3 separate regions of the Homo sapiens genome follow, and regions 1 and 2 are each linked to region 3. Evidence: promoter capture Hi-C in human tissues and cell types (Jung and others, 2019). All regions are on one chromosome and are shown on one strand. The core of a region is centred on a gene start or on the middle of the fragment in contact, and the rest is flanking DNA. Distances in the headings are between cores, read along the strand shown. Region 1 overlaps ZNF609 (zinc finger protein 609). Region 2 overlaps ANKDD1A (ankyrin repeat and death domain containing 1A). Region 3 holds the start of OAZ2 (ornithine decarboxylase antizyme 2).

Region 1 (2,723 bases), core at 75-2,574, 200 kb before region 3:
AGGGAATGTTGAGGAATAAACAAGACAGAGCCTTCCAGCTCTTGCCTGTTCCCTTGCCTTTAGTTTGATTGATGGATTGTTAAGTTAGGGATGGAAGGGGAGGTAGGGAGGAGGGCAGGCGCCTGTCTGAGTGTCCTGAGCTTAGTGCTTATGTCGCCACTCTGACAGGCAAGAAAAAAGGAATTTACAAACCACAGATGGCAACGATCTATCTGTGCTGACTTTGTCAGGGCTTACGACCAGGAGTTTAAGGTGAGACTCCTTCTTTTCCCCCAAATCATATAAAATAGCCAAGTAGGCTCTAGTAGTTAAAGAAAGGATCTAGAAGTTTCTAACCAGAAGCTCCCCCTCACATGTCTTTAGCTGCTGCTTTTGATCTTGCAAGGTAGGAACACTGCACTTTGCTTTTCCCGTGTTTGAATGTCAGCTTCTGCTGCTTTCAGAATGCTGCATATATTTACCACTTCCCCCATTAGTTTAGGATACAAAGAAAACCATAAAGTGTGCTCTTTGCTCTTTCAACTTCTGATCATGCATGCTATCATATCCTGTGTTCTTAAGAGCATCTTCCTTTGCCATTGGTTTTGTATTCCTGCCCTAATTTGTGCCTTCTAGCTTAGTTCTCTTGTATTGTAGTCCCTCATTGCCTAACCAAGGTCAGGTCTCTTTTATTCCTTCTGATCCAAGGCTTTCTTAACGCCTTCTTCCACTAGCTGTTATTTCTCAGCTATTGATGGCAGAGCAGTCAGCTTTGCTTCCTGAAACCAAATGCCCTCAAGATTTTCCTTCATGGAAAACATTAAAAAGAAGTTGATATTTATGTGGGACAGAGTTGCATTCTGTAACTACAAGCTTAATTTATTTTTTCATTCAGAAACTCTGTTTTCCTTCTAGGTGTTGTAATTCAAGGCAGTTCCAGAGAAAGATTATCTTGTCCAATTTCCTCATTTTATAGAAGAAACTAAGACCAGTGAAGTCCTGTGACTTGCCCAGCATCTCACAGGTAGTCACTGGCAAAGCCAGATTTGTAGACACCAAATTCTTATGGCATGTTGTTACTCTGGGATTCTTAACAAATCTTTAACTGTCAGGAAGGATTCTCAATTTTCCCACTTTATTTGTTATTTTCTTAGTATTATTATTTTCGAGATGGAGACTCACTCTGTCACCCAGGCTGGAGTGCAGTGGCACGATCTCGGCTCATTGCAGCCTCTGCCTCTGATTCAAGCGATTCTCCTGCCTTAGCTCCCCGAGTAGCTGGGATTACAAGTGCATACCACCATGCCTGGCTAGTTTTTTTTTTTTTTTTTTAATTTTAGTAGGGATAGGGGTTCACCATGTTGGCCAGGCTGGTCTCAAATTCCTGACTTCAAGTGATCCACCTGCTTCGGCCTCCCAGAGTGCTGAGATTACAGGCATGAGCCACCACACCCAGCCTATTTGCTTATTTTTAAGGCAGGGTCTCGCTATGTTGCCAATGCTGATCTTGAACTCCTGGGCTTATGCACTTCTGCCTTGGCCTCACTTATGCACTTCTGCCTTGGTCTCACTTATGCACTTCTGCCTTGGCCTCGCAAGTAGCTGGGACTACAAGTGTGTGCCACCACACCCAGCCATTTTTTCAATGTAAAGACTACCTTGAAACATTAGATGAAAATGCTTACATACTCCAAAATTGCTTTTACCCCAAAACTGCTTTCACTTGTTTTTCACAGTGACTTTAACATTGTAGACACTCAATAAACAAAGGATCTTTGAGTTTAGGATTTTAGGTAAGGTAATGAATGATGTTTGCAAAGAATAACCATTACAGCTGGCACTGAACCTATCCTGTTATTTATAAAGAAGGAAAGTTACTTTAAAACTGCTACTTTGAGCTTGACTACTTATGATATATGTGTGTGTGTTCTGGAATATTTCATCCAGCCAAATTTTCATTATAATAATTGAGGAATAGTTCTTTCTTTACTTGGCAATTGCAGGTAAGAAAAAAAACCCTGTTCTAGTGCTTCTTCCTTGGACACATCACTAATAGGCAGACCTTCAAATGTATTGTGGATATTACTAAGTATTTTGTAGAGAAGATATACTGTTGGCTAATTGTTATCACTTTTCATTCAGTCAGTACATTAATTGAATGCATTTTAGATACTAGGTTTTCTACTTGGTATTGGGTATACACTGGTAAATAAAACAGAGATGGTCTCTGCTTTTTGAGGAGCTTACAGTTTACCGTCTACAGCAGAGTTCCTAAAAGTGTGTCCCATAAAACCATGTACATCACCAGAGTATCAAAAATGCACATTCTTGGACCCTACCCTAGATATGCCGAATAAGTTTTTGGGGTAAGGGCCCAGAAATCTGTACTTCCAGAAGTCTCTCCAGATAATTGCTATATACATCAAAGTTTGAGAATTTTCCTTTCAAGGTAAGTATTCGGGGCCACTTCTCATTTAAAACACCAGCCTTCTAAACTTGAATTTCACATCAACTCTTATGTATAATTTAGTGGCTAAAAGCGTAAACTCTAGCCAGGCCTCCTGGCTTGAGCCTGGGAGGTTGAGGCTGCAGTAGTGAGCTGTGATCGCACTAGTGCACTCCAGCCTGGGCAACAGAGTGAGACTCCGTCTCAAAAAAATAATAATAATAAATTTTTTAAAAAGTGTGAACTCTGGAGCCAGACTACCTGGCTTTGTTTCCTACCTTTGCACTTATTTACTGAG
Region 2 (2,700 bases), core at 52-2,551, 220 kb after region 3:
TGGGTTATCCCTCGGGTCCATTCATCATTTACAGTGTTGTATCCATGGGGAGGCTGTGTTCTGGGTCCCAAACACTCGCTGTTTGGGAGACTGGCAGTGTGTGAAAAGGGCCTCCCTTCACAGACTGCAGGAACCCTCCTGCACTTGTTTCCAGGATGGCCTGACCTTACTGCACTGCGCAGCCCAAAAAGGCCATGTGCCTGTGCTGGCGTTCATAATGGAGGACCTGGAGGATGTGGCCCTGGACCACGTAGACAAGGTGAGAGTGCCTCAGGGCTACTCATCATTCCCATTGGGCGGGGGGCTCCTGGGGCCACTCTTGCACACTGGGCTTACCACATTCCTTGGGTGCATCCTTTGATCTGTGGGCATATTGCACCTGGCCTGGGGAGCCGCTGGTTGGGAAGAGGTGTTGAGGCGCAAATGAGCAGAATACAAGCAGAACACAGTCAGTTGCCACAGAGAGGTCTTGATCAAGGACTAGGTGGGTTAGAAAAGCAAGCCATTGCTTCTGCTTCCTGGAGGAGGTGGCATTTGGTAAATAAACTGGATTTGTGGGTAAGATTGGAAATCAGGGGTTGGAGAGGGCACCAAATGGAAGAGCGAGGCTTGTGGGAGCTTTAGGGACAGGAAAGGGCTCTAGTGTGAGTTCTGAGGGACTGGAATCTTAGGAGGGAAGGTCTGATGGGTGGTTGGGGGTCCCTCTGGCGATCTCAACCCCCATCCTCAAGAATCTGTTTATTCATTAGGCAGCAAGGAGCCACCTCAGGACTTCAGCCAGGGAGGGACCCCAGCAAGTGTCTCTTGTTGGGAAGTTGGGTCTGGGCTTTCCAGGCAGGGTGTGGGGAGGCAAGGGGAGAGGACAGTGTCTGGGGCAGGAGAGGCCACTACAAAGCCAGAGTGGTTGGGGAACAGAGGCCAGGTGGGCAGAGGCAGGTATGCCCACTGACAGAGTGAGGAAGGCTCACACCGCTTCTCCTCCCGGCCAGCTGGGGAGGACGGCGTTTCACAGGGCAGCTGAGCACGGGCAGCTGGATGCTCTGGACTTCCTCGTGGGCTCTGGCTGTGACCACAATGTCAAAGACAAGGTACCGTGTCCGTGAGGCTCTGGGATCCTGACCAGGGTGCAAAACTTGCCACCTTCCAGGCTCTGGCTCCTCACCTGTGTCCACGTCTGACTCCGATTGCGCTGGAGGCCCGTGTGGCCCAAAGATGAGAGTGTATTTAGTGTTCATCCAGCAGGCCCTTCACCAGCGTGTGCTATGGGCCAGCCCTGTGCTACAGGTTGGTGGCATAAAGATGCCCAAGACACCGTTTCTTACTCGAGGAACTCAGTGCCACAGGCATAGTAAGGATTTCTGATCCGACGTGGCTGGCCAGGGTGGCAGATCTGGGTGGTTGGTAGTGCTGCCTGGAGTGGGTTGAGCAGGGCTGTGATCTACTGGGGTTGTCTGTTGTTGACAGATGTGGGGAAGTGTTAGGGGGTGGTAGCCACACATCTGCTCTGCTATGGTTATGGCAGGAATAGGTTGGGAGCATGGAGAAGGTAGCATATCATTCAGGGCTTGTGAGCAGGATTTCACCAATCTGAGAAGGGGTAAGGGACGGGGACCAGAGGGTCTACCCTGCAAATGACTCTTATCATTGGACCCTTGTGAATCATTAGGCAAAATATGTTACAGCAAATTCCCTTTTTTTTTTTTTTTTTTTTGAGACGGAGTCTCGCTCTGTCGTCCAGGCTGGAGTGCAGTGGCGCTGTCTTGGCTCACTGCAAGCTCCGCCTCCCGGGTTCACACCATTCTCCTGCCTCAGCCTCCCGAATAGCTGGGACTGTAGGCGCCCGCCACCACACCCAGCTAATTTTTTTTGTATTTTTAGTAGAGATGGGGTTTCACGTGTTAGCCAGGATGATCTTGATCTCCTGACCTCGTGATCCACCCGCCTCAGCCTCCCAAAGTGCTGGGATTACACGCGTAAGCCATCGCGCCCGGCCTGTTACAGCAAATTCTAAATGATGCCTCCAACAAAGAGATTAACTCCATTATTAATCTTCTGGTTAATGTGCTTGGCCAGGATAGAGGGAGTTCTGTGTAAAATGAAGTGATAGAGAGCTCACACACAAATGCACTGCAGGGTCTTGGAACTGGAAGGCATCTGAATTCAGCCTTCTCATTTTACAGCTGTGGAAACTGATGCCCAGAGAGGGACATGCCTTAGCCAGGGCCACACAGTGAGACACAGGTAGAGCTGGATTTGGAAGCAGCATCCTAATGCATAAAGCTGTCTTTCTCCCCTTACCAGGCTGCCTCCTGGGTTGGACCCCCTTGGGTTCTGCACTGAGTCCATCCACACTCATCCTTTTGGGCTGAGCAGGTCCTACCCTGTGCAAGGCACTGGGCCAGGAACTAGGCATGCAAAGAGCGGGGAGGGCAGTGCCTGCCAGGACTGGCAAACCCAAGAGGCAAAATGATCACACCTCAGGGCCCCAGGAGAGCATGAGCACCAAGAACAGTGAAAGATAAAATACAGCTTTGATGAACTTCTCCAGAATCTTGCAATCAGAAATTCTGCAAAGAAGCTTTTAAAATTGCATACCCCTGTTAAGTTTTGTGTTTTCACAATGGGAGTGTTTTCATTTTCAGTTTCATCTGGGAGTGGGGCACGGTAAGTTTTTCAATGCCTGATAAGGGGGATAGACCT
Region 3 (2,700 bases), core at 30-2,529:
ACCAGGGTGCTCGGTCTGAGAAAGATGTGCAGCCTTTCTCTAATTAATGGGGGAAGACTAGGGTCGGGTTTTGAGGGAGGAAATTGCAAAGATCTAGTGTCCAGAATATAGAGCTTGGTTTGAAGGCACTGGAGGTACAGGGGGAAGGTTCACTGGAAGCGAGATGGCTGGGTCCTGTGATCTAATGATCCAAAGACGGGATTCAGTTAAGAGGGGAAGGAGAAGGATGAGTTCCAGCTGAGAAAAGATGTTTAGAGGGTAAGAATGTTTCCAAGAGTGTTGGGGGTATACCATTGGGGCAACAGGATGGAGCACAAGAATCAAACCTGGTGTTTGATAAATAAAAGGAATGGCGCTGGGAGACTGGGAAAATGGGGCCTAACTGGGAGAGGGGTGTGGAGAGGGGAAGGTGGGGGAAAGATGAAGCTGAAGTATGGGACCAGGAGGAAGAGGCTGGACATCTGTGTAAGGACTGCTAGGCCTGAAGAGAATGGGGGGAGGGTGATGAGTGGGGGTAAACTGAGAACTGAAGGATGGAGGTTGACTTTGCGGGGGGCAGTGATATGAGAAGAGTCTGGGTGGGGGGTGCAGTTTTCATCAGGGAGGGAATTCAAAGGGAAGGGTGAAGTGACTTATAAGGGGAGTAAGAAAGATTTGAGGAAGACAGGAAACAATTTGGGGAATCTGGATGCCGGGGAAAGCCCAGTTTGGGGAATGGGGCACAATTCGGTGGGGCTGAAAGAAAAAAGGGGACTTGCTTGGAAGGTTGGGTTCCGGCTTTTGGGGGCTTTAGGGGAGGAGAAGGCCCGGATGAGGGGGATGGGCCCGGCTGAAGAGGGGGCTAAAGGACAGAAGAAGGCCCAGTTGCAGGGCTGAGGACCGGACTAGGGTGGCTGAAGTGGTGAACGGACCTGGCTGGGGGCGGATGGCCCCGCTGCGGGGGGCGGGGGCCGGCTAGGGGTACGTGAGAGGCCCTCTGGAGCAGATGAGGGAGGATGGGGGCGGGGAGCCTGGGCCGGGCCGTTACCTGTCCTGGGTGTTTATCATCCTCGGCGGCTCTGCTCAGGGTGGGAGGAGGCGGCGCAGGGAGTGGATAGATGGATGAGTGGGTGGGTGTGGGGTCACGCGCGCGGGGTCGATCTCTGCGGGCTAAGTCCCTGTCAGGCCGCGGGCCGAGCGCCTCCTTTTGCCTCAGCGAGCGCCTGCCTCCAACTGACCCTCCCCGGCCGCCACCGCCGCCGCCGCCGCCGCCGCCCCGCCCCCGAGTGCCTCATCTGCATAGCCCCACCCCAGCGCCGCGCGGTGTCCTGGGAAACTGGGGCCCACAACAAAGGGCAAAGCACCGCCCCGCCTCCGCGCAGGCGCACCACGGACCGATCGTGGGGGTAGGGCTAGGGGGTCCGAACGAAGGGCAGGCTGTGCAGGAGGCCATGACCAAGGCGGTGGGTCTGCCCGCAGCTGCGGCAGCGCGGCCCAGAAGATGCGTTGTGTTTCCGGTAGTTTTCTGTGAGGATTGACTCAACCTGGTCCTCATCCCTATTCCTTGTTGGCGTGGGGCCGAACAGGGCTGTGCCATTTGGGAGGATATTAAAACAAAATCAGAAATCTTAAGAGAACTACACACATATTAGCACCATTCCTAGTCTGAGTCCAGGCCCACAGATCTGTTATCTCAGCTCATAATGCAGATCAATAACCTCAGCTGTCAGGGTAGATCAACAATCTCAGCATCTCGCACACATCTCATGTCAATCGTCAAGGCTGCTCCAAGCACTGGCTTAGGTCATCTGAAGCCAGAACTCTGTAGATCATGAGCACAGTCACAACAAGACAGTCGTGGAAAGCGTCGTCACTAACTTGTTCACGGTCACTTCAGATCACAATCAGTGCAAGTTACTTCAATCGATCATGCAAGGTTACTAGTTCAGTCACCTCCATTCATTATCCCTACTGGTCCTTATGACAGATTAGTGCCTGAAGGCCACAGTCACCGGTGCGCAGACCCCTCAGATCACAGTCCTTGTAGGTTACAATCACAGACACTTCAACACAATCATCAAAAGCCCCGACTCTGTTCACAGTCAACCCAGATTGCAATCAAGAGAGGTCACATTATCTCAGATCACAGTGGGTCACTCTGTCACCTCAGATTACATCCATTCAGTTATTCAACAAATAATTATTTTATTTATTTACTTATTTTTGAGATGGAGTCTCTCTCTGTGGCCCAGGCTGGAGTGCAGTGGCACAATCTCAGCTCACTGCAACCTCCACCTCCCGGGTTCAAGCGATTCTCCTGCCTCAGCCTCCTGAGTAGCTGGGATTACAGACATGTACCACCATGCCCGGCTAATTTTTGTATTTTTAGTAGAGACGAGGTTTCACCATGTTGCCCAAGCTGGTCTTGAACTCCTGACTTCAGGTGATCCACCTGCCTCGGCCTCCAAAAGTACTGGGATTACAGGCATGAGCCACCGCACCCGGCCAACAAATAATTATTGAATAGCTACTTACTGTATGCTCCAGGCATGTGCTAGAGTCCAAGAATACGCCATAATCAACCAGGCAAGGTTCCTGCCTTGGATGTCACAATCCGGTCAAGGGGAGAGACACAGGTCATCACAATACCAGGTAAGTAAGTGCTCAATCTGAGGAATGCCACAGAGAAAGTAATTTAGGGAATTAGGGACAGCTTTGCAG

What was found. The method cuts DNA at HindIII sites, captures the fragments that hold promoters and counts their contacts. A contact is called where the count stands out against the background at its distance.
Region 1: a fragment that was not itself captured here is called in contact with the fragment with the promoter of OAZ2 in region 3 in 1 of the 25 tissues and cell types used here (spleen).
Region 2: a contact is called between a fragment that was not itself captured here and the fragment with the promoter of OAZ2 in region 3, in 2 of the 25 tissues and cell types used here (hippocampus and spleen).

The regions. Positions count from the first base shown.
Region 1 is chr15:64,503,344-64,506,066 of GRCh38, forward strand. All of the region lies in intron 2 of ZNF609 (zinc finger protein 609), which reads left to right. Among named protein-coding and RNA genes, the nearest start is that of ZNF609, 44 kb to the left of the region's middle. The HindIII fragment of the contact is 8,439 bases long and covers 1-2,723 here.
Region 2 is chr15:64,925,912-64,928,611 of GRCh38, forward strand. ANKDD1A (ankyrin repeat and death domain containing 1A) reads left to right here. Exons shown (of 15, transcript NM_182703.6): 5 at 155-259; 6 at 990-1,088. Among named protein-coding and RNA genes, the nearest start is that of ANKDD1A, 15 kb to the left of the region's middle. The HindIII fragment of the contact is 6,466 bases long and covers 1-2,700 here.
Region 3 is chr15:64,702,002-64,704,701 of GRCh38, forward strand. OAZ2 (ornithine decarboxylase antizyme 2) reads right to left here and starts at 1,280. Exons shown (of 5, transcript NM_002537.3): 1 at 1,028-1,280. The coding sequence starts at 1,047. LOC124903507 (a long non-coding RNA gene) reads left to right here and starts at 2,542. Exons shown (of 3, transcript XR_007064679.1): 1 at 2,542-2,631. RefSeq lists silencers at 866-1,085, 1,096-1,415. The HindIII fragment of the contact is 8,869 bases long and covers 1-2,700 here.